4 separate regions of the Homo sapiens genome follow, and all the other regions are linked to region 4. The links are contacts of gene promoters, found by promoter capture Hi-C in blood cells and fetal thymus (Javierre and others, 2016). All regions are on one chromosome and are shown on one strand. Each heading gives the region's core, a stretch centred on a gene start or on the middle of the fragment in contact. The rest is flanking DNA. Distances are from core to core; before and after follow the strand shown. Region 1 has its middle 260 kb from the start of SS18. Region 2 has its middle 110 kb from the start of LINC01894. Region 3 has its middle 95 kb from the start of LINC01894. Region 4 holds the start of ZNF521 (zinc finger protein 521).

Region 1 (5,720 bases), core at 30-2,529, 480 kb before region 4:
ATCCACAGTTGTATTTCAAAGTAAGTTCTAAAAAGCCACATGCCTCAGTTTACCCTTTGGAATTTGCCTATCTTTTTTTTACAGCGTTATTGTTATAAATCAACTTTCTAAAAGAATATACCAGTGATATTTGCCTATAGCTTTCAAGCTTTGATTAATGTTTTAATGGTGTTTGTCCCTATTTTAATCCATGTAGTATATTGAACTAAGCCTGGGGTTTAGAGTTAGATGAGCTAGGGTCTGAATCCCAACTCTTCCCAATTACTAGCTGTGATGATGGTTAAATCACATAGTGATTCTAAGCAATCATTGTCAATGGAGTTGAAAGGATTTAAATTAAGGTAGGTACAAAAGGCATAGCACACTGCCTATCACATAGTATGTACTCAATAATCAATTTCAGCTATTATTATTGTCATCAGTAAGAATGACAAAATGTGTGCTTTAGACCTCTAAACAGCTTGACTAGATCTTTCTCTGAAAATTTCACCTTGCTTTGTTTCATTTGTATCTGCAGAGTCGCTGTTCTTATCAGAAGAACCATTATGCACAGCTAATTTCAGGTTCATGAGTTCTTAAGCACAGTGGGAAACTAATAAATCAATTAAACATATATTTCATAAGAGATTGCTATATTTATATGTGCATACATAAATATAATTTTAACAATGAAAAGTAGCTTGTCATGAATAGTTTATTTCATGAGATAAAAATAAAAGGAAAACAATAAACACTACTTCAAAATGCAATGCTATGTAACACAGAAATGAAATTCCACAAGATCTTGTGGTTCTCTGTGTTACATTCAAAAAGAGTAACAGATAACAAGATGGCTGGCCACAATGTGAGATATACTGTTGGAGAAAATTGTCCAGTGTTTTGAAAGGAAAGGAAAAGCCTTCTAGGAATTTCTCATCACAGAGAATTTAGACTGAAGGAATTTGCCACGGTGTTTTCTGAATAGCCTTAGAATTTTATATTGGATTTAAAAATTGGGTTAGGGAGGGAGTGGCTCCTCAGAATGAAGCTTTTCCAGGCTCCCTTTTACTTTGTTTTTGCCTGGGGCATTATTTTTTGTTTGCCAAGACCAGCTGCTTCCTCGCTAGCCAGGTTTCCGTTTAGTGGCCCAGGGCGGCTTCTCTGATGTCGGGGAATTTGCCCCTCTGAGGTTGGAGCGGGCAGCTGTGTGTCCCCAGGCTGGGCGAGGGGGCTGAGCTGCCTGGAGGCCTGGATGGCTGCATTCTGCTGCCGCACTTTCACCGGTATCTCTTCGCGGATCTTCAACAAATGTGACCTCTGCCAACCTCGTCTGAGCTCATCAGCTCTGCTGCCTCTGGGACCCAGGAGGGAGACAAAGGGGGCTGGGTCAGCGTTGGATGCCAGCTATTTTTTTCCACATGGTCTCTGGGAACAGTTAACTAATCATATCAGACCCAAAAATGATTTAAACCTTTCCTAGCTACTAAGCACGGGAACTGTTGCTGGCACACAAACAAATCCCAAACTATCTCAACATGATAACACAAGCTTTTTAAATTTTAGAGTAAAATGTATCATTAATCAACCATCAACAAGTATTCATTCATTTATTATGTGCTGTGCTCTGTGATGTGGGGGAGACAGAGTGGAAAGCTCAGCCTTCTCTGAACGAGCAGGTTGGATCATTGTGGGTAAAGCTGGTCCTCCACCCATCCTGGATGGACCCCTTTATTACAGAAATGTTGTTAGGGGTTGAATTGCATCCCCTGAGATTTATTTGTTGAAATCCACACTTCTCCCTCCCCTGTACTGCAGAATGTGACCTTATTTGGAAATCGAGTTGTTGCAGATACAGTTAGTTCAGGTGAGTCATACTACAACAGGGTGGCCCCTAATCCAATATGACTGGTGTCCTTATAAACGGGGGAAATTGGGACACAGACATGCACACAGGGAGAATGCCATGTGGACACTGGAGTTATGTTGTTCTAAGCCAAGAAACTGTCAGAGCTGGAAGAGAGGCGAGAGCAGATCCTTCCCCAGTGTCTTCAGAGAGAGCAGGGCCCTACTGACACCTTGATTTTGGATTTCTGGCCTCCAAAACTGGGCGAAAACACATTTGTGTCTTTTAAGCAACTATTAGTATTACTTTGTTATGGCGTCCCTAGCAAACTAATACAAATGCGAGGCTATGTGTCCACCCAATTTTATTGGGGAAAACTGTCAGCTTGCCACTGACTTGGAGCACAGTCTGGGCAGCCTCTTCTCCGTTCAGCTGATGCTCAGCCCCAATGTCACCACTGAGACGGGCCTTCAGGACTGCCTTACCTAAGCAGGCCCTGCGCTCTCCATCCCAGCACCTTGCTTCATTTCCTCTCTGACTCATCACTACCTGAAACAACCTTGCTTATTTTTCTTGATTTTTAAAAACTGTCTATTTTCCACACCAGAGCTTCTGCTCCAGCAGGCTTCTGTCAGTCTGTCCCATGCTTGGCACATAGTAGGTGCTCAAAAAACACTTGTTGCAAGAAGAAACAAATGAAGAGGTAAAGCTTCATTTGGGAATATGATTTTTTGTGTGTAGACAGAACTGTGCATCTGGGCACTGCTGATCCCACCCCCTCCCACCCCCACTTCTTTCCTTTTCTCTCTGTTAGGGCTGGGAGCAAAAGTCTGGGCTTGCTGCATGGACACAGACAACACAAGCCTGAGTTGCTCTTGCTCTGCTGTGGATGAGTGTGGTTTTGTTTGGTTTCACACTTCATTTTGTCTCTGAGCTGCAGAGGACAGCTGGTCAGCTCTCAGTCCTGCTTTGCCACCTCTTGGAAAGGAAAGGCAGTGAGAGGAAACTAGACATGCCAGCCAGGCTAAGGATGAGGGCCTCAGGACTCCCACATGGAAGAAACCCACGGAGGAAGGAGGTTCTGCCAGATCTGCCTCCCTGTGTTCACAGAGTCTCTGGACCTCTAGGTGTTGCACCCAGGCTTTTGTAGTTCACTCTTGAGAGGAAGGAGCTGCCAGGCCCCTGGGCTGTGTAGGGCCAGGAGTGAAGGCTGGGGGCCATGTGTGGGCATATTTAAGCCAGCCAAGGCCTCAGAAAGTGAGGAAGGGGGGCTTTGGGAGACTTCGACTTCCTGCCTTTGAACCTCAGACAAACCTAAAAGGCCCTCGGAAACACTATTTGCTCACGGGATGATAATGTGGCTGTGTTTGTGTTCACCAGCTAGTGAGATATGGAAGGTTTGGACTGAAATGACAGGCAGTGGGTGGAGGGGCCTCCTGAGGAAATACTTCAGATAAATACTTCTGGGATAAGATCCTTGACCAGGGGTGAAAGTGGGAACAAAGATGGAGAGGTTTACATAGACTATATGCTGATTAAATACTGTTTTTATTTGTATGTGATTTACGTTTTACCTACTTCCAAAAAGGATTGGAGGGGGATGACTAGTTGAAGGTGAAGGATGAGGTAAGAATGACTCCAAGTTCTCAAGCCTGAGTGATGGAGAAAAAGAGGGTGTCACTATCTCAGGCAGGAAGAATGGCTGGGAGGAGAAAATATTTGTGAGCAGACAATGATGTGTTCGGTTTTGGATTTGTCACTCTTTAGGTGATGAAGAGACATTCAAATAGAAAAATTTACTAGACTGTTGCAAACATGTTACTCAGAGAATCCCTATCTTTGATAGGCAGGCTGTCTGCAAAAACAAATCTATGTGATTAGTACAGAAATAGGAACTCCTTAATTTATAGCCGTAGCTATTGTTTGCTTCTCACTGCTTTTAGTGTCATATCTTTGCTCCGAAGGAGTTGTAATTTTGAGTATCACATGCATGGGTGAGCACACACACGTGCGCACACACACACTCTCTCTCACACAAACACACAAAGCCTATTTGCTGCAGTTGTATCCCGGAGTCTTGATACTAAATTGCTCAAAGTTTTGCTTTCCTGTGTCCTGGGAGAGCCCTTTGGTCTTCTGTCTTGTCTCCCTGAAGCCACTCGCTTCAGCTCCCCGACAGGCACTTCCGTGTATCCTTCTGTGATCTCTCCCTTGTTTGTGTCTTGAGTAGCAGAAATGCATTCCGGCAAGACTCACCCCTTTGCTGTGACAGATTGCTACACTGCAGAGCCCATTCAAATAACTTTTCTTTTGCCTGCCTGCATTCTCAGAGAAGCTTTTAGTGTCCTCCTTGGAAAACCACATGAAACAATGTGAGCTATCCAGGGTAAGAGCTCAGCAAATGAGTACCAAGTTAGGAGTTCGAAGCAAAATAAAGAGGTTATAGCCAGGAGAAGTTTCCAAGGTTGCTGACGTGTAAAAATGTCTAATTGGCAAGTGTATTCTCCTTAAAGACTCAGAAGAGGAGGGTATCGATCTATTGCTGCCCTCTAGAACAGATTCTTTTGTAGAATCCAAGACAACGTTTTATTTTTATTTTCTTACTGTGTGTGTCAGAATTTAGAATATATTAACTTTCACTAGTACCTAAATCTTAAACTTTCTTTGCTTTAACCCCAAAGTATATTTCCCTTTTCTTTTTCTAACTCTTTATAAGCATAATTTAAAAAATTACACAAGTAAAACTTCCAAACAAATAGAAGGATATAGGATAAAGCTTTTATCTTTTCCCACTCTTGAATTGTGTTCTTCTCTCCAGAGGCAGCATGTGAATAGTTTAATATGTAGCTTTCCATGCCTTTTTCTGTATATTTAAATACATGCCTGGATTGCTCTGTCCCAGTGGTCACTTGCTGGTCACCCATTTTACTTCCTCAGGGAGGGCCTCTCTGATGACACAATGTAAATGAGCTGCCCTCATTATCACCTTTTGCCTTTCACTATTTTGGTTTTCCTCCTGGCATTTATTACCATCAGTAGTAGGCAGAATAAAGCTCCCTTCTCTACAAAGATGTCCACGCCCTAATCCCTGAAACCTGTGGATGAATATGTTCTCTTCTGTGACAAAGGGGACCAAATGTGATACAAGTAAAAGCATGAACCCAAAGGAAGGGAGATAATCCTGGATTATCCTGGTGGGTCCAATCTAATCACACAAGGCCTTAGAAGTGGTGAACCTTTCCTGGCTGAGTCAGAGAGAAGGGCAAGAGATTCAGAGCATGACAAGGACTTGATTTGCCACTGCTGGCTTTGAAGATGGAGGCAGGGGGACACCAGGCCAAAGGATGCAGGTGGCCTCTAGAAACTGGGAATGGTTCTTGGCTGACAGCCAGCAAGGAAACAGGGACCACAGTCCTATAACCACAAGGAACCAAATTCTGCAACAACTTGAAAGAGCAAGGAAACACATCTTTCCCTAGAGCCTGCAGGGAATGCAGCCCTTTCTGGGCAAAACTCGGATTGAACGTTTGACCTACAGAATTGGGAGATAAATTTGTGTTGTTTAAGCTGCTAAGTATGCAATAATTTGTTCTGACAATAATGCAAAACTAACACACCATTTAAATTATTTTGGTCTTTTATTGGTTTGCTTGTTTGTTTATTGTCAGCCTGCCCAATAGAATGTGAACTCCAGGAAAGAGAGACTTTGTCTACTTGGCCCACTACTCTATCTCTACTGACTAGAACAGTTCCTAGCAGGTAGTAGGTGCTAATTTTGTTGTTGTTGAGTGAATAAATGAATATTAATGTGGACATGTTTGTATATGATATCAGATTACACATAATATCTTATGACTTGCTTTTTACACTTAATGATGTATCTTAGATGTCTTTCCAT
Region 2 (5,354 bases), core at 1,654-4,153, 480 kb after region 4:
AAAGAGCCACATTGTCACGTTCATTCGTTTGGCCCTGCATTTGGTCACGAAAGGTCCTTTTTAAGGTTCTCTCTCTGTTTTCGGCCCTGGCTCTAGCCCTGGGGATGTTCATTCAGCAGAGCACAAGGAGTGCCCTTGGGCCGATGGGGCAAAAAGACAATTCCCTTGACCAGGACAGTGAAGTGTCATTTGTGCTGTGGCAGCACAGAAAAGGGACACCCTGAATGGGTGGCAGGAGTCAGGGAAAGCTTCCCAGAAGAAGGGACATTCAAGCTGAATTTAAAAGGGTGTGTGTGGAACTGAGTAAAGAAGGAGATGTGCATTTCAGCATAGCTTCATAGAAGAAGCATAGAGTAATGAAACCACAGCTAAGTTCAAAGTTGTTGTTCCCCAGTGGCCTGAGGGAAGGGTGTGTGTGGGGTCGGGCAGAGAGAGCATCAGGGAACAGAGAAACCCACATGTGGAGCTCCATGGTTCCTCAAAGGCACAGCTTTATGACCTACTTTATTTAACATTTGTCCAGCACCTGCTTTGTACAGGGAACTGTCTGACATGCTGTGGCCTGGAGGGATTGAGAGGAAAACCATCTCTGCCCTCAACAATAGACACACAGTGAGTGCCTACTGCATACCAGACAAGCTTTTAGGTTCTTTCCTGTGGCTTTTCAATTTAATCCTCACGACAAACCTGCAAAGTAAGTATTGTTAGCTCAATTTCACAAATGAGGAAACTGGAGCCCTGAGAGGTAAAAACTACCTATTTAAGATCAAACATCTGGTTTGCAGCCAGCTGGGATCAGAACTACAGAGAAGACACAAGAAGTTTATGACTCAAGATTTCCATTTATACCATACCAGATAGGAGAGGAAGAGCAGGGAAGGAAATGTAAAAATGTGGGCGGTTCTCCCTCTGGTCAAGCCAGCCTATCGCTTTGTACCAGGCAGGAGCCCTGGGCCCAGACTCTCTGGAAATTCCTATGTGGACACGTTCCAGGCAGGAAAGCACAACAAAGACAGTCCCTTTGTTTCTCCTGTTGCCCCCTTATCCCCATGCCCTTTCCTGAAGCTGCTCCTGCCTCTGACCTACATGGCAGTAGACAAGGCTTAAGCCTTCTCTTGGATCCTTTAAATTCCCACAGGTGGTCCTTTCCAGTTATTCCCACTTCAGACATTTCTCAAGCTGAGTGGAGGGAGGTGGAAAGCTTCGTACGCAGGAAAAGAAGGGAGATAAAGAAATTAGGAGGATTCTGAACACTGGGTTGTGGTTTCCTTCATACAAAACTTGTTTCATATTGGTAGTCCCAGATTACTTTTCAAAATATTAGGTTGGTGCAAAAAAATTGTGGTTTCTGCCATTACTTTCAATGGCAAAAACCATTGATTACTTTTGCACCAACTCAATAGTAAAATCCACAAGCAAACACATATATCTCACTCTGTGAAGGTTAGTCTCCTGCCAGTAGCCCTCACTGGGTTTACCAACTCTATTGTTATCCCCTCCCCCTATCTTCTCTTAACCTGATACTAGAAGGCCCAGTAACTAATTATGACATTCCCACAAGAAGGGAAGAAATGTAGTCCCACTAATAGAGAAAGCAGAATAAAGGAAAGGATAGTCAAGGACTTCTCGAAACAACTAAAAATGACAAAGCTGGCTCAGAAATACAGTGTTTTATAAAGTAGAGACATTTATTAAGCAACGGAAGGTTTCCATATAAGTTGTAAGTATATGAAAAAGTCCAAGGAAAATAAAGCTATGGAGACAGTCGTAAAGCATGCAGGTATTGGCTGGACATTTCTAAAACACTATAGGTCTTACTTATTGCTATGGTTTGTATGTACTCCTCAAAGTTCTGTGCTGGAAACTTAATCCTCAATGCAACAATGTTGCAAGGTAAAACCTTTAAAACGGAATTTGGTCTTGAGGGCTCTGCCTTCCTTATTGTAAGAGTAGGTGTGTTATAAAAGCAAGTTTGGACCCCTCTCTCTTGCCCATGTGATGCTTTCCACCATGTTATGATGCATCAAGAAGGCCCCCACCAGATGCAATCCCTCAATCTAGGACTTTCCAGCCACCAGAACCATGAGCGAAATAAATTTCTGTTCATTATACATTACCCACTCTCAGGTATTCTGTAATATCAGCACAAAATAGACTAAGACACTTATTTATGCCTGGATCCCCCTGGTAAAACTTTCCTATGCCTGATTTTTGCACCCTGAGCCCAGCTGTGCAAGGTCACACCTCTAAACCTTGTCTAGTGCTTTATTGTCTCAGATAGTGTGTTGTGTGTTTGCTCATTGCCTCTTTGGTCTTTGAGTTCTCCAGTATTCACAAAACATTGTATTTCTGAATCTGTAATACTTCACATCACAGAGGGAAATAGAAACGGAAGACGCTGGAGGGAACATGAAGGGAGAAAAAGACAGGAGACTTTGTCAGGAGTTTTAAACTTTCTTATTGAGTTAGAAGAAGCCCTGGGGAGAAGATGTTTTAGATGTTTGGGCCTTCTGGGTTCACCGTTGCCGCAGAGAAGAAAGAGTGTGGTGATTTAAAAGTGATCGAGACACGCAAGGGACTTAAAGAGACGACTGGAGGAAGGTGACTCTCTCACAATTGCTCTTTTATGTGGGCATTAAGGCTGTGACCAGTATTGTCATCATTTACAGGATATGTTGCCTTCAGAAGGCATGAGAAATCTTGGCCCCTTTGACTATAGGAAGAGAAAACTTTCCAGCCTTTTACCTAAAGTCCTTTATTCCATGATTCACAGCATTAAGGAAAGAACTCAGGCACTTAGGGAAAGAGATTTCCAATTCATGCTGCACTCCTAATTTGCTCTGTAAATTTTAGCAGTTTCCCTTACTTTGGTGATTTTACAATATTAACCATTTGCAGTCAGAGCAAGAATTACAAGGAAAATCATAAATACTGAGGTGGTAAGCATACTTGTGGCGTTGTCAGTCAAGACATTCTAATATGGGGTTTCTGACAATTAGAACAGGGCACCTTCTCTGACCTCTCTCTGGAGCAAAGGACTCCAGGGTGGTTGGAGATTCTGACAGTGCCAAAGGGAAAATGAGATGAAAAAATCATTTTTCCAGTTAATTAATTTCCAAGAAAACTGTATCTGCAGTTTCTATTGTGCCCCCTCCCCTACCATAAATACTTAAGGGTCAATGAAAATGATAGTACGTGATTTGTTACCAACTTTATGAACATCGGTAGGGTCAGCCTCAAAGATTGCTCAGTTTAGCATTTACCGTGATGCCTGGCATAAATGAGGTATCTGTTATGGGCTGAATTGCGTGCCCCCAAAATTTATCTGTTGAAGTTTGAATCTCCAGTACCTCAGAATGTGACTGTATTTGGAGACAGAGTCTTTAAGGAGATAATTAAGTTAAAATGAGGTTGTTAAGGTGGACCTAAATACAGTGTGACTGGTGTCCTTATAAAAAGAAGAGATTAGGACATAGACACACACAAGAGGAAGACCATGTGGGGAAACAGGGAGAAAATGACCATCTACATCTATAAGCCAAGGAGAGAGGCCTCAGAAAAAAAAAATAACCTTCGGACACTTTGATCTTGGACTTCCAGCCTCCAGAACTGTGAGGAAATAAATACCTTTTAATTAAGTCATCCTGTCTATGGTGCTTTGTTATGGTGGCCCTAACAAACTAACAGAATGCCTACAATTGTGTACTATGTGAAAAAAAGTCAATCAGATGATAAAGGAGCACTCCTAGAAAACCTTAAATCTGTAGACATGATGGTGAACAGTTGACACTGTGAAGTGTGGCCAAGGGTTCAGGACTTGTATGACCTCAGCCAAGTTCGCTAACCTCTCTGAGCATGGATCCCTCTTTTGTGACGTAAGGATAATGATGCTGGACTATATAATGTTTATTTATAGAAGAAAACCTGAGGAACCTGATAGGCTCTGAGTATATAAAAATGAATAACATTGTCCCTATTCTTGAGATGTATAAGGTGATTCTAATTAAGGAGAGAGAGAGATGTCCACAAATGCATAACTGCAACACAAAGAAGGAATACCTGCTTCGAGAGAGATATGTACATGAGCTTCTACAGAAATATGTGCACCATGTTAAGGTCATATCCAATTAACTTTTGAGAGGGAGGGTCAGAAAAAATGTCCCAAATGTAACAATTTAGCTGGGTCTTAAAGTGTAAGGTCACATAGCAGCAGAAAATGAGACAAGAGGGCTTTCCCATAAAGAAGCAAGTCAACAAGCATGGGTGGCTAGAGGGGCAAGAACAGTAAAGGGCTCAAAGGACAGTAAGTAGTTAGTGGTGACAGGAGTGCATCACTGAGATTGGCAGAACTTGAGACAGGAAAGTTAGGTTGATATCAAAACATGAATTGTCTTGAATGCCAGGATAACACATCTAGGCTTTATTCTATTAGACATCAGGAATCACAGAAGGTTCTGAAGCAAGGAGGTGATATGAATGGATCCGTCTTTTGGAAGGAAAGCATACCCCAAAGGCAGTGTAGTGAATGGTTACAATGGGAAACATTTGGAAACGGATAGCTGAGTAGGCATGCCATTGCAGTAGCTCAGGTACCCGACAAGCTTCAGGAAGTCAGAAGGATTGTATTGGATAAACTATGTGTTCAATAACACTAATAAATGTAATTATTTTTTAATGGAAGCAGATTTAGGGCGAGAGCTTGTCAATTCATGTCAATGCTAATTAAATTTTCTGAGAGGTGGTGAGAAGTTAGTTAATATTATAACAAGCATGTGATACCAGGTAATTTTCTCAGTTGCAAATATCTTTCTTCATTTAACACCAAAATAACTGCTCATTTTGATTGAACAACCAACCAATATGAAGAGAGAAGTAGAGTTTTGTCAAAATGACTTTTCAATGCGGTTCTATCTTATTTTAATCTTCACTGTAACCTATAATCACTTTTGGTGGCATTATGACAGATATGCTGGCACATGTGGCAGACTATACTGAAGGTTTCAATTCCACAGGTATTGGTTTTGAAATTTCATATATTTAGAAATATAAATAGCATTAAGTTTTAAAAGACAGAATTGTATACATTCTTTACCAATATGTTCCCCTCTCTCTTTGTATCCCTCACCCACCACATAGCAGAATTTCTTACTACGTCCTCTGTGTTCCCAAAGCCCCTTGTTTGGTATTGCATGGATCACTGTGGGAAGAAATAAACATAAGCCTCTGTTTCCATTGTTAGATCACAAGCTCCTTGTCTTCTTCATCCGTGGCTCCCCAGAGCCTAGCACAGTGCCTGCCTGGCCACAACAGATGCTCAACACTCAGTGACTGAATTGCTTTAATGTTACTCCCAG
Region 3 (5,276 bases), core at 2,212-4,711, 460 kb after region 4:
GTCATCTGGCTGCTTGAAGTCTTGGTTTACAATAACTTTTGTTATTGTTGTTATTCTCTGGCTGTCATTTTGAGGCTTTTTCCCCCCACAGATTTTAATTGAATGTTCCAGAGGGGACATATTTCTAGTATTTAGTTTTGAACTTTTACTTCATATTGTGACCAATTAAAATATCACTAACCGCAGAATACACTTTTCTTTTTCTTCAAGCGTCACCCCCAACAGAGAGAATAGAGCTTGAACACCAGAATATTATTTTCCTTGCTGTTTTGACTTAAATAAAAGAAAAGGTTTTTTTTTGTAAAGTTCTTTGAAAACTTTTTTGACAGCCCCATTTGTTGTGGTTTTCTCCCCATTCCATGTTTAGATTGGGTGACATTTTGCAGTCTGTTTTTTCTCCTCATGCCAAGCCTCCTTGTGTAATATAAAGCAGTGATCCTCTGCATGACTGAAAGCCAGGATATGGCAGACGACTTTTAAAGATAACACTAATATACAGATAGAGGATGTAAATCCATCTGAGCCCAGCCCTGCCAGCAGCCCTTCACTTCTGTTCCCTCGTGGCTTCCTTTCCCTTTTCCCACAAATCTTTAGCACATTCCTCAGGCTCCCAGCCACCTCTCAATGAAGAGCCTTGCCTTCCACCTCACAAACAAAATAGAGCTCATTATTGATGAAGAGCCCAGTGACTTGCCACTCCATGCCTGAAATGCATCCATAACAGAACCCTTTCTTCCCTCCTCATCGTCTCTTCTTCAGGACCATCTCCTTCTTCTACACAGTTCCTCCTTTCCTTTTGTTCCTTCTCTGGCATTTGTCTAGAAATTATTGCCCCCTTTCTCCCTGTGCATTTTCCTTCTCCCTCTCTTCACCTGCTTCATCTGAGAAGATCTTCATCTTCTCAGACTACAGATGCATGCAAAATTCCTTCTTCATTCTAACAAAGTTCCCTGCAAACTCCCTGCCCAGGCTCTATCTGTCTCTTTCACCACCACCAGATTTCAGGAAAGAAGAGTCCATACTCTTTGCTTCAACCTTCTCAACTTCATTCACATCTTGATCCACTGCAATTTGCATCTCACCATATTCCATTCTATTGACAGTGTCATAAAGATTCAAGCCTCAGACAAAAGTCAGGGAAGGCCCTTGGATTCAGGCAAGGACTTTAGTAATAAGGACAATGGGAGCAACTGAAAAAAAAATTCTTAAAATTCAACTTCCCCCTTTTAGGGAAAAAATAAAATGATTTTGTCTGTTTCCTGAGTCAAAACAAGTCGGGAAATGCCTAGATCCAGAGATGCCTAGACACACCTCAGTGGTGGGTAGTAGTTGGGGCATTGACAGTGTTCACGTCTGTCCTTGACACTGACCCCATGAGAGATAACAAGAGAAGTGGGTCTGAGATCCTGCCTTTCTGCAGGGAGCATGGAACAAGCTGGGAGGGAAATAGGCAAAAGAGAAAGCACAGGCCATTCTACCACTTGCTTCTCTGGGTCTTCCAGGCTCACATGATTGCTTATGTGTACGAAGAAGAAACAGAGGCCTCTACCTTTACATATAATCATGCCCATTCTCCTCTGTCCTGCTCCCCTTCCTGTCTGTTCTCCGGTCTGGCTCTCTTTAGCCCAGAAAACAACAGTGGTTTCCTCTGCATGACACTGCCTGCATCGTTTACTGCTGGAAATCGTCTTTTCTCTTCTGCTGAGTGAAATTGCAAAAGTGAATGACAAATCAGGAAGTCAACTTCTTTCATGGGTCTGAAAAGAGGTATCTTCTTTTTGTCAAGAAGGTAGAAAGATAAGACAATGGCTCTCTTCTTTCCCAATTGACTGTGACCTTCCTCCCTTGCCCCATGCCTATGTTCTACAGAAGGCAACCTCAGGGATAAAGCTTCCAGTTGAATTCTTGGCCTCTGTGCTGAAAATGCCAACCAATGTCTGGCAATGCCTGTTCTGATGTGGACTGGCCAGTGAGCTGAGACCATCGCTTCATTTCACATAAACCATAAAATAGCCAACAGATGACCAGTCATTAGACTTTCGGTCACTACTGACCCAGCCTGGACTTGAACCTGTGACCTCTAGGTAAACAGTTTTAGGTTGCAATATTAATGCCTAAAGGGTCTAGAAGCCCTCAAAATCCTAACTTTTTAAATTAACACTTTTGTAGTTAGTCACTGAGGGAAGAGAGTAAATGAAAGAAGACATGAATACCTGATTTCCTTAAGGGAAAGAGAAAAACTAGTAGAGGAGAAACTTGGTCTTACACGACTCAATAGATGAAGCTGTTACTTTTTAAAGCTGTTGCTTTTTAAAGCATGGTACCATTGGAAAGGTGGATGCCACTTACTGTCACTCTGCAGTGCTATTTGAAACACCTGCCTTGGCCTTAGCTCTGCTCCATTGATTGTCTTCATTTGCTTGCTTAACAACTGGGGGTGTTTATACCTTCGTAAGAAAACCACTTTCCTGAACAGAACTGTGATAATGCAAGCTAATTATCTTATCCCAAAAAACTCTCAAGAGTTTAAGTCCACTGCTTTGTTAAGTCATTCTACCCAGACTATGAGGTTGAGAATAAATACTATTGTGCCCATTTTACAGATAGGGAATCTGGGAAGGTCAAAGGCTTAATGCAAACTTTGTTTCCACAAATCAAGAGAGTCCTAGTAATGAGACAAACCTGGTTTACCTCTAAGTGCTGTCATGTACAAACCCTGTCACCTTAGGAAAGTTATGCGTTGTTTCTATTTCCTCATCTATAAATAAGGACAATCATATCAATAGGAATTTTGTAAGAGTGAATGAGACAACACATATAAAGATCACTACACAGTGCCCAGCTCCACAGGGCTACTGCTCCACACAACTCCAGGCAGCTGCACATTCATACCACACACAAAGTTGACTGGGCAGGGTGGCTCACGCCTGTAATCCCAGTACTTTGGGAGGCTAAAGCAGGTGGATCAATTGAGCCCAGGAGTTTGAGCAACATTATGAAACCCCATCTCTACAAAAAAAAAAATAAATAAATAAATAAATTAGCCAGTGTGGTGGCCTGTGCCTGTAGTACCAGCTACTCAGGAGGCTAGAGGTAAGAGGATCGCTTGAGGCCAAGAGATTGAGGCTGCAGTGAGCCATGATCACACCACTGTGCTCCAGCCTGGGTGTTGGAGTGAGACCCCGTCTCAAAAATAAATAAATGAACACAGTCTGAATAATGCCCCCTGGAGTTATGCAACTCAACAGCCATGCCAGCCACACCAGCCACAGTCTGACATGGAATACCTTCTCACTAAGTATTAGCTATCATTATTAGTTTGGAAGTTTTTCTTCTGGCAACAGCAAAGTAGGTGGTTCAAATCAACTCTCTCTGACCACACGATAATATATGAAAAGAAACACTGGGTTGAGGACATTAGAAAGTCACCAAGGCAGTGAGAAATCACACTGCCAAGATCCCAGAGAAGAGGGAAGCCCACTTAAGACTGCTTTTTCCCCGGGACAGTAGTTCTCAGAAAGTGGACACAAAGCAGGCAGCAGCACCTGGGAACTTGTTAGAAATGCAGAGCCTCAGGTTCCACCCCAGATCTACTGAATCAGAACCTCTGGGCGAGACCCAGCAAGCTATGCTTTAACAAACCCTTGAGTGGATTGTGATGACCCTAAGGTTTGAGATCAGCAAGCTACAGGCACCTGAAATTCTGAAGGCACAGCTGAGACCCTGAGAAGCTGGGCAGGGATTTTGATAGTCTTGAGGCTCTGGGGAGTCTGAAATAGGGGTTCAAGCTCTGTCGAGAAGGAGGTGTCCTGGAAAACACCCCAGGATATTAGTTGGGACCCCAAGACCACACCAAAGAAGGAAAAGTGAACTGGAAATATAGGAGCCCTCACAGGGACCAAAGTTTCTTATCTCTCAATTCCTGGGACTTGCTAGCCCCTCAACCCAGCACCTGCCAGTAGCAATGGCAAACATTTAATCAAAAGTAACTGAGCGCTCACTTCTCTCTTGCTCTGTTACATCACGCATACTGGGGAAGTCAGCTGCATGTCAGAGAAATTGCAAGCCCTATGGAGAATCCATGTACGGAGAAACTGAGGCCTTGGCCTTCTACCAATGGCCAGAGGAGTGAACTAACTCCTGCAGCTTCAGTCAAGCCTTCAGGTGGTGAAATTCGGGCTGATACCGGAGTCCAAGCCCAAGGGAGAGCCTAACAAGAACCATCCAGCTAAACTGCACTTCAACTCTGCTCCTAACAGAAACTGTGAGATAATAAATGTTCATTGTTAAAATAAAAAACAACTGGACACACAACCAAAAATACTAGGCATATGAGGAGACAAGACTTGACCAACAACCAAGATTTTATCTTAAAGGCAATATAAACAAACCTGTAGGCAATAGAGTTTTTAGACATACATTTAAAAAGTAGCTATGCTTGTCTGGGAGCAGTGACTCATGCCTGTAATCCCAGCATTTTGGGAGGCTGAGGCGGGAGGATCACTTGAGGTCAGGAGTTTGAGACTAGCCTGGCCAAAATGGTGAAATCATGTGTCTACAAAAAATACAAAAATTAGCCGGGTGTGGTGGCGCATGCCTGCAGTCCCAGCTATTTGGGAGACTGAGGCTGGAGAATCACTTGAACCCGGGAGGTGGAGGTTACAGTGTGCGTGAGCCCAGATCACACCACTGCACTCCAGCCTGGCGACAGAATGAGACTCCGTCTCAAACAAAACAAAACAAACAAAAAAAGCTATGCTTAATTGTTCGAGGAATTATTACTATTTCACCCTAAGTTCAAGATCACCCAACTCAAATGGGCCATCAGTCCTGTCCAACAATCCATACACATGATTTGGTCAACTCAATCTCTTACTTTCTATGGCTGTACAAGTCATCTCTATGCTCTCTCATCCCCACTCCCTGCTCACCCTTCACTTTCGGCATATGACCTCACCCACTTCACAGAGAGCAGAGGCCGTCCAATAAGAATGCACTGGCTTCTGATCTACAAATCTACAAGTAAGCTTTGCTTCTCTCTTTTTATGATAGAGGAGCTGTTCATCCTCTTACCTAAAGTCAATTCTTTGTCCTGCACTTTACCCTTCATTCCCTCACATCTTCATAGAAACCTTACACTATCAATGATTCTTTTACTTTCATATATGCAGACTCTCTTTCTCAAGCAAACCTTTCCCATTGAACTTGTTAAATCATCTTAAGTCACATTTAAAAATACTTGCCAACTTCAGCCCTGCCTCTGTCTTCCTTCCCTT
Region 4 (5,188 bases), core at 491-2,990:
CCCATATAGAAAACTTTAACAAATTAGGGTACGCGTTAGTATTACGTTAGCAATTTTTCACTTTCCAATAAAACCAGGATTAGATGCCATCAATATTTTAGATAATATCACACATAACTTGGGACCACACATACATGGCACCATAGTATTCTGCACACATATGGCTACCACACGAAAGGAAAGTCTTGTAAAAACTTGGTGTTTACACATTTTTCCCTTTCTGAATGATTTCTGTGAAAATGAATGTATAAGGTTATGTATAAAATCTAGAATCCTTAATGTACCAACACAGATTCTGCAACAAAAGTTGCTTTATTTCACAGTCATGCAAAGTTAAATTTGACTACAACTATGATTTCACTTTAGGAATTACTGCAGATGGATTGAAAACTCATTTAATTATAATGAAGATATTGAAAAAAAACATACTGTATTTGCAGCTATCCACATGAGGGTCCAGGCAGTTTACAGGTTAGACTGGAAAAAATACAACTTCCTTAAAGCTTTGATGTCTTTGCATGGTGGCTTAATAGATAGCTGTACCTTAATTTTACAGAACGGAGAATTTTTAAAATCTGATTAAGAACAATAGTATTTGTACAAAATTCTGCCTGTTTTGTGTAATTAACCGTATTCTGAATCTCTTAATTTCCACCAAGACTTGTGAATCTAAGCTCTACTTGGTAGCCCTCTCAGGCATTTATAACTTGACAAGCGTGTCCAATCAATAAATAGCAACAACAATAATAATACTAAAACATCCTTTCCCTTAAGATAAGGTAAAAGAAGGAAACAGGTGATGGTTTCTTGTTTTGCGATGGGAGCAGGTGAAAAGTTAGAAAACAAAACTGCGAAAAGAAACAAAAATTCCCACCGACCTGCAGACATTTCAATTTATTTTAGAAACTATTTTCTTGTACACATATTCTTAAGTGCATATTTCCTTACCTCTTGCTTAAAGAAAAAATCAACAGAAAGCTTTATTTTCTGGACAAAGATCTATGTCAATTTGAGAATGTTAAAAAAGTGAACTCAAAGCTGTCTCTTTTGAATCACATTATGACATTCGTCAGCATCAATGACTTTCTCTAAACGAGAAAATAAAAAAAAAGTCCAAATAACTTGCCTTTATAAAGATTCCAAGTAAGAGAGACTTGGCAGGTCTGCGGTTGCCATAAAAAAGATTTCCCGAGTCCGGGCAACAACAGCAGACACACTTTTTTAAAGTCCGACAATGCAAAAGCCAAGCAATGAATTTCCCCCCTCCTTTCTTTTTCTTTTTCTTTTTCTTTTTTTTTTTTTTTTTTTTTGCCCCCTCAAGAACAAATTGTTGCCTCCTTTTACATCCATCCTACCAGAAGGGGGACCTTTCCACTTTCAGATGCTCCTCTGCTTTAATTTCTGAAGAGGAAAAAAAGCGAGCAGAAGAGCCCCGAGATCCGCCGTGGAGCTCTAATAACGCAGCTGCGGCGGCGGCGACGGCGGCGGCGCGGGGTGTGCGAGCGGCCGGGCGGGCGGCGCGAGGGGCGGCGGCGCAGGAGCGGGCGGGGCGCGCGGCGCGTGGGAGGCGGCGGCGGCGGCGGCGGCGGCGGGCGGGGCTCGGGGCGCTCGGCCGCCGCCTGGCTCCGGATCCGCGCGCCGCGGCCGGCGCCTCCAGTCCGGGTCTTGGCGGGCCCCCTCCTCCCTCCCGCTCCCCGCGCTCTCGCCTTTTAATCATGCCCCTCTGTCTGTGTGTGAGTGCAGGCAGGCTGACAATGATTTCCTCAGTGATTACGTACAGAGCGAGTCCCTGCGGGTTAGGGGCCCCCTCTGGAGCCATCCTGATGGCTTTGGGGGCCTTGCTTCCATTTTCCATTATTATGTGGACTACCGGAGCGACAGCGCAGTCCAAGACCTTGCAGGTTTGTGATGAGGAGGGAGCACACAGCACACTCCTTCTCCTCCTCCTGCTCCCGGCTCTCCTCCTCCTCCTCCTCCTGCTCTCGCCGCCGCTGCCGCCGCCGCTGCCGCCGCTGCTGCCGCCGCCGCTGCCGAGGCAGCCGTAGACTTTAGAGCCCCGGTCCAGCGCCAGCCGCCGGCGCCGCGCCCCCGCCCAGAGAGGGGCGCCCCGAGCCCGGGCCCCGCACACCCCCTGCACACAAGCAGCCCCGCACACCACCTGGGGGCCGTCGGCTCGGGTGCTTTGGCTTTTTCTTTTTGAAAGAAATTACTTTAGTGTGGGTTAAGAAAAAAAGGGTGGGGGGAAGGGAGAAAAAAAGTATTTTTTTCCCTTTGCTTATTTTCGTGGCCCGTTCGCATCTGCCTCGGATGGTGGGAGATTTTTCTTTCCAAGACCTTTTCATCGCCTTGCAGGGTCGATTTCCCCCCCTCGTCCCCCCAACTACAAAAGAGCACGACTCGCTTTGTAAACAAATCAGTGTTATTTGTTTTTTTCCGGTGGGGGGGGGGGCGGATTTGTTGAAAAGGAAAAGCGGTAAAGAAAAAAAAAATCACCCAGACGCTTTTCTTTTTATTAGTTTTTTTCTATTCGCATGAACTATGTGAATTTTGATTGAGGTGGAAATAGTAACGGATTTTCTCTTTTTAGTGTAGCTGACGGCTCTTCAAACATTGTCTTTGGGGTTTTTTTTTTAGCTTTTTTTCCCTCCTTTCCTTTTTTCTTTTTCCTTTTTTTTTTTTTTTCTTGGAGATTGGGGGTGGGGGTCGAAGGCTGGGAAAGTTTGGTGCAGCAGCCGCCGCCGCCGCCGCCGCCGTCGTGCAGAGCGCGGAGCTCGGGCAGCCGCGAGCCCCGCGCGCGAGCGCGAGCCGGAGCCGGAGCGAGGAGCGGAGCGCGGAGCGAGGGCGCGAGGGAGGCCGAGCGGAGGGCGCGAGGCGCCGCGGCCCGAGGGGCGCGCGGCCACGAGGAAGTATAGTTTCTTTCAGGGCTGAATTGAAACAACTTCAGCTGTTTGCTTTTAGGATGTCTCGCCGCAAGCAAGCGAAACCGAGATCCCTCAAAGGTAAGGAGGAACCCCCTGCTCCCCGCTTTCCCCCATCCGCGAGTGTCACTGTGGGTAGCGGAGCGAGGGCTGCGTGGCTGCGAGGCGTGTGCGCGCGTGAGTGTGAGTGTGAGTGCGGGGGCGCGCGCGCTCCCCTCCCCGCTGAGCCCCTAGGTGGAGTGAGGGTGAGGTGTCGGGGTGGGGGGAGACGAAGACGGGAGGAGGATCCCCGAATGGGGCGGCGGTAGAAAGTGGGCGAGAAAAGACAACAACAACCGAAAAAAAAAAAGAGAGAGAGAGAGAAAGAAACGAAATTATCCGGAGAGGGAGGAAAAAAAAATATCCCGTCTGAGATCTACATCTGGGCTGGAGGAAAAAGTTTCTGTTGTGTGTTTTCGCAAAGAATAAATATGCAAAACCGTGCGGTGCTTCTTTTTTCCTTTTCTTTGGAAGAAGAAAAAAGTCATCTCGGAGGTGGGGAGCAGCCCCCGCTCGTGACAAACGTGGCCCGGGGTCCCGGCCGCCGCCTCCCGCCCGCCCGCGTCCTGCTTGGGTCCTCTCCGCACGTCGCCGGAGTAAACAGACCCCGGCCGCCGGCCGCGGGCACCGGACCCCGGCTCGGGCCTCAGAGCACCCCTCTTGGCCATTCCCAGAAGTTGACCGCCCCTCGCCCCTACTTCTCCCCGCCGCCCCTGGAGTCCTTTGCGTTTCGCGGTGGGGTCCAGCTCTCCGTCGTCCCTGTTGGAGAGGGAAGTTGCGGGGCGTGCGTGCGGGATTTTGGGGGCGCACTAGCTGGCTGCGGCGGGGGCGGGGGTCCCTGAAGTTATCGATCTGATGGCTGTGTTGGAATGTGGCGAGGAGAGTCACGTGGCGGCCTCCTCCTCCTCCTCGGCCGCCTCCTCCACCTTCGCGAGCCTCCTTCCGAGGAAATCGGGGGCGGGCGGCCGAGGGGAGCCGCGAGGTCCGGCGCTCCGAGGCGGAGAGCGGGGAGGGCGGGCGGCGGAGCGCGAGGGCCGGAGGAGGGGCGCGCGGGCAGGACGGGGAACCGGGGCGAGGGCCAGGGGGCCAGCGCTGGAGGCGGCCGCGGCCCCCGCGACCCGGAGGCGGAGGACAAAGGGCGGCTGGTGCGCCCGCCCGGGCCCGCTGGGTCCCGCCGAGGTCCGCGCGGCCCGGCCCCGCCCTCTGGTCCCCGGCGGCGCAGCATCCTCTTCCTCCTGGCTGCCGGGCCGCGGCGCCCCGTGGCCCCGGTTCCCGCACCAGCTTCCCGACTCGCCGCCGGCCCGGGGAAAAGGGGTGGGCAGGGCCCGGCGCCCCACGCCTCCCGGCCCCCGGCCGCTGTGCATTTTTGAACTCGATGAACGGAGCCCTCACCGCACACACAAAGCCCTTTCTTTCTTCTCCTGGGAAGGGACGGGGTGGGGGAGGGCCTCGCAGATTGGAACGCTTGCTTTTTTCCTAAAGCGCAGAAGTTTTAGTTCGGGAACGAGGTGAATCATTGGCATGTGTCTCCACACAGTGTGTCTGGTGGTTTCCGTCACATGGGCCCCTCATTTTTCTGGGGGAAACCTAGACCCAGGGCCTGAAAGATCCAAGTGTCGACAGTGAAAAAAGAAACGCCACGGGCGTGCGCGGGTGTCAGGGTAACGGTGGACCAGGCTCGCGCCGGCGAGACTTGCCCGAGACCCCGGCTTTCTTGAAAGTAACGCTGAGCGAAGTACCAGGACAAACCTCTTCCTAGTCACTTGGAAAGAAGAACTTTCCGAGTTGAAGTAGGATAGCGGTTAGTGCCTGTCCGGTGGAAAGGGCTCCAAGAAGCTTCTGAAACCCCGTGAAGGAATTTGGGAGGGATTTTTCTTTTCAAAAAAAAAAAAGTTTATTAAAGTTTGCACGATTGGCAGTTTTGTTCACTCGCAGCTTCTGAGCATTTGGTTCACCTGCTTTTGGAGTGAATTTACAGCGAAAGTTTGGTTGACTGTGAATGCGTTTGTTCCCAGTGCTTCCTGAAGATGATTTCTTCTCATGCACGTAGGATTTTATGGGCAGTAAAGGGAATCCGTCAGTTGACGGTATTCGCTGGGCAGGTTTGATAAGTCGAACTGCAAAATACCTGTGCAGTTCTTAGGTTAATAAGCAAAAAATGGCAAGTGAAGAATGAGTAAAGAGGACATTTTATTCTTTTATCGTCATGTTGCAAAATTATCCAAATATCT

What was found. The method cuts DNA at HindIII sites, captures the fragments that hold promoters and counts their contacts. A CHiCAGO score of 5 or more calls a contact.
Region 1: a fragment that was not itself captured here is called in contact with the fragment with the promoter of ZNF521 in region 4 in 1 of 17 cell types (endothelial precursors); the score reaches 5.5 in endothelial precursors.
Region 2: a contact is called between a fragment that was not itself captured here and the fragment with the promoter of ZNF521 in region 4, in 1 of 17 cell types (endothelial precursors). The highest score is 5.1, in endothelial precursors.
Region 3: a fragment that was not itself captured here is called in contact with the fragment with the promoter of ZNF521 in region 4 in 1 of 17 cell types (total B cells); the score reaches 5.6 in total B cells.

Annotation. Positions count from the first base shown.
Region 1 is chr18:25,823,620-25,829,339 of GRCh38, reverse strand. No RefSeq gene overlaps it. Among named protein-coding and RNA genes, the nearest start is that of SS18, 260 kb to the left of the region's middle. RefSeq lists enhancers at 742-1,241, 1,242-1,743. The HindIII fragment of the contact is 500 bases long and covers 1,030-1,529 here.
Region 2 is chr18:24,871,046-24,876,399 of GRCh38, reverse strand. No RefSeq gene overlaps it. Among named protein-coding and RNA genes, the nearest start is that of LINC01894, 110 kb to the left of the region's middle. The HindIII fragment of the contact is 3,400 bases long and covers 1,204-4,603 here.
Region 3 is chr18:24,890,271-24,895,546 of GRCh38, reverse strand. No RefSeq gene overlaps it. Among named protein-coding and RNA genes, the nearest start is that of LINC01894, 95 kb to the left of the region's middle. The HindIII fragment of the contact is 3,137 bases long and covers 1,893-5,029 here.
Region 4 is chr18:25,348,718-25,353,905 of GRCh38, reverse strand. It overlaps ZNF521 (zinc finger protein 521), which reads left to right and starts at 1,740. Exons shown (of 8, transcript NM_015461.3): 1 at 1,740-1,901; 2 at 2,959-2,999. The coding sequence starts at 2,960. RefSeq lists a silencer at 1,645-1,714. The HindIII fragment of the contact is 3,815 bases long and covers 981-4,795 here.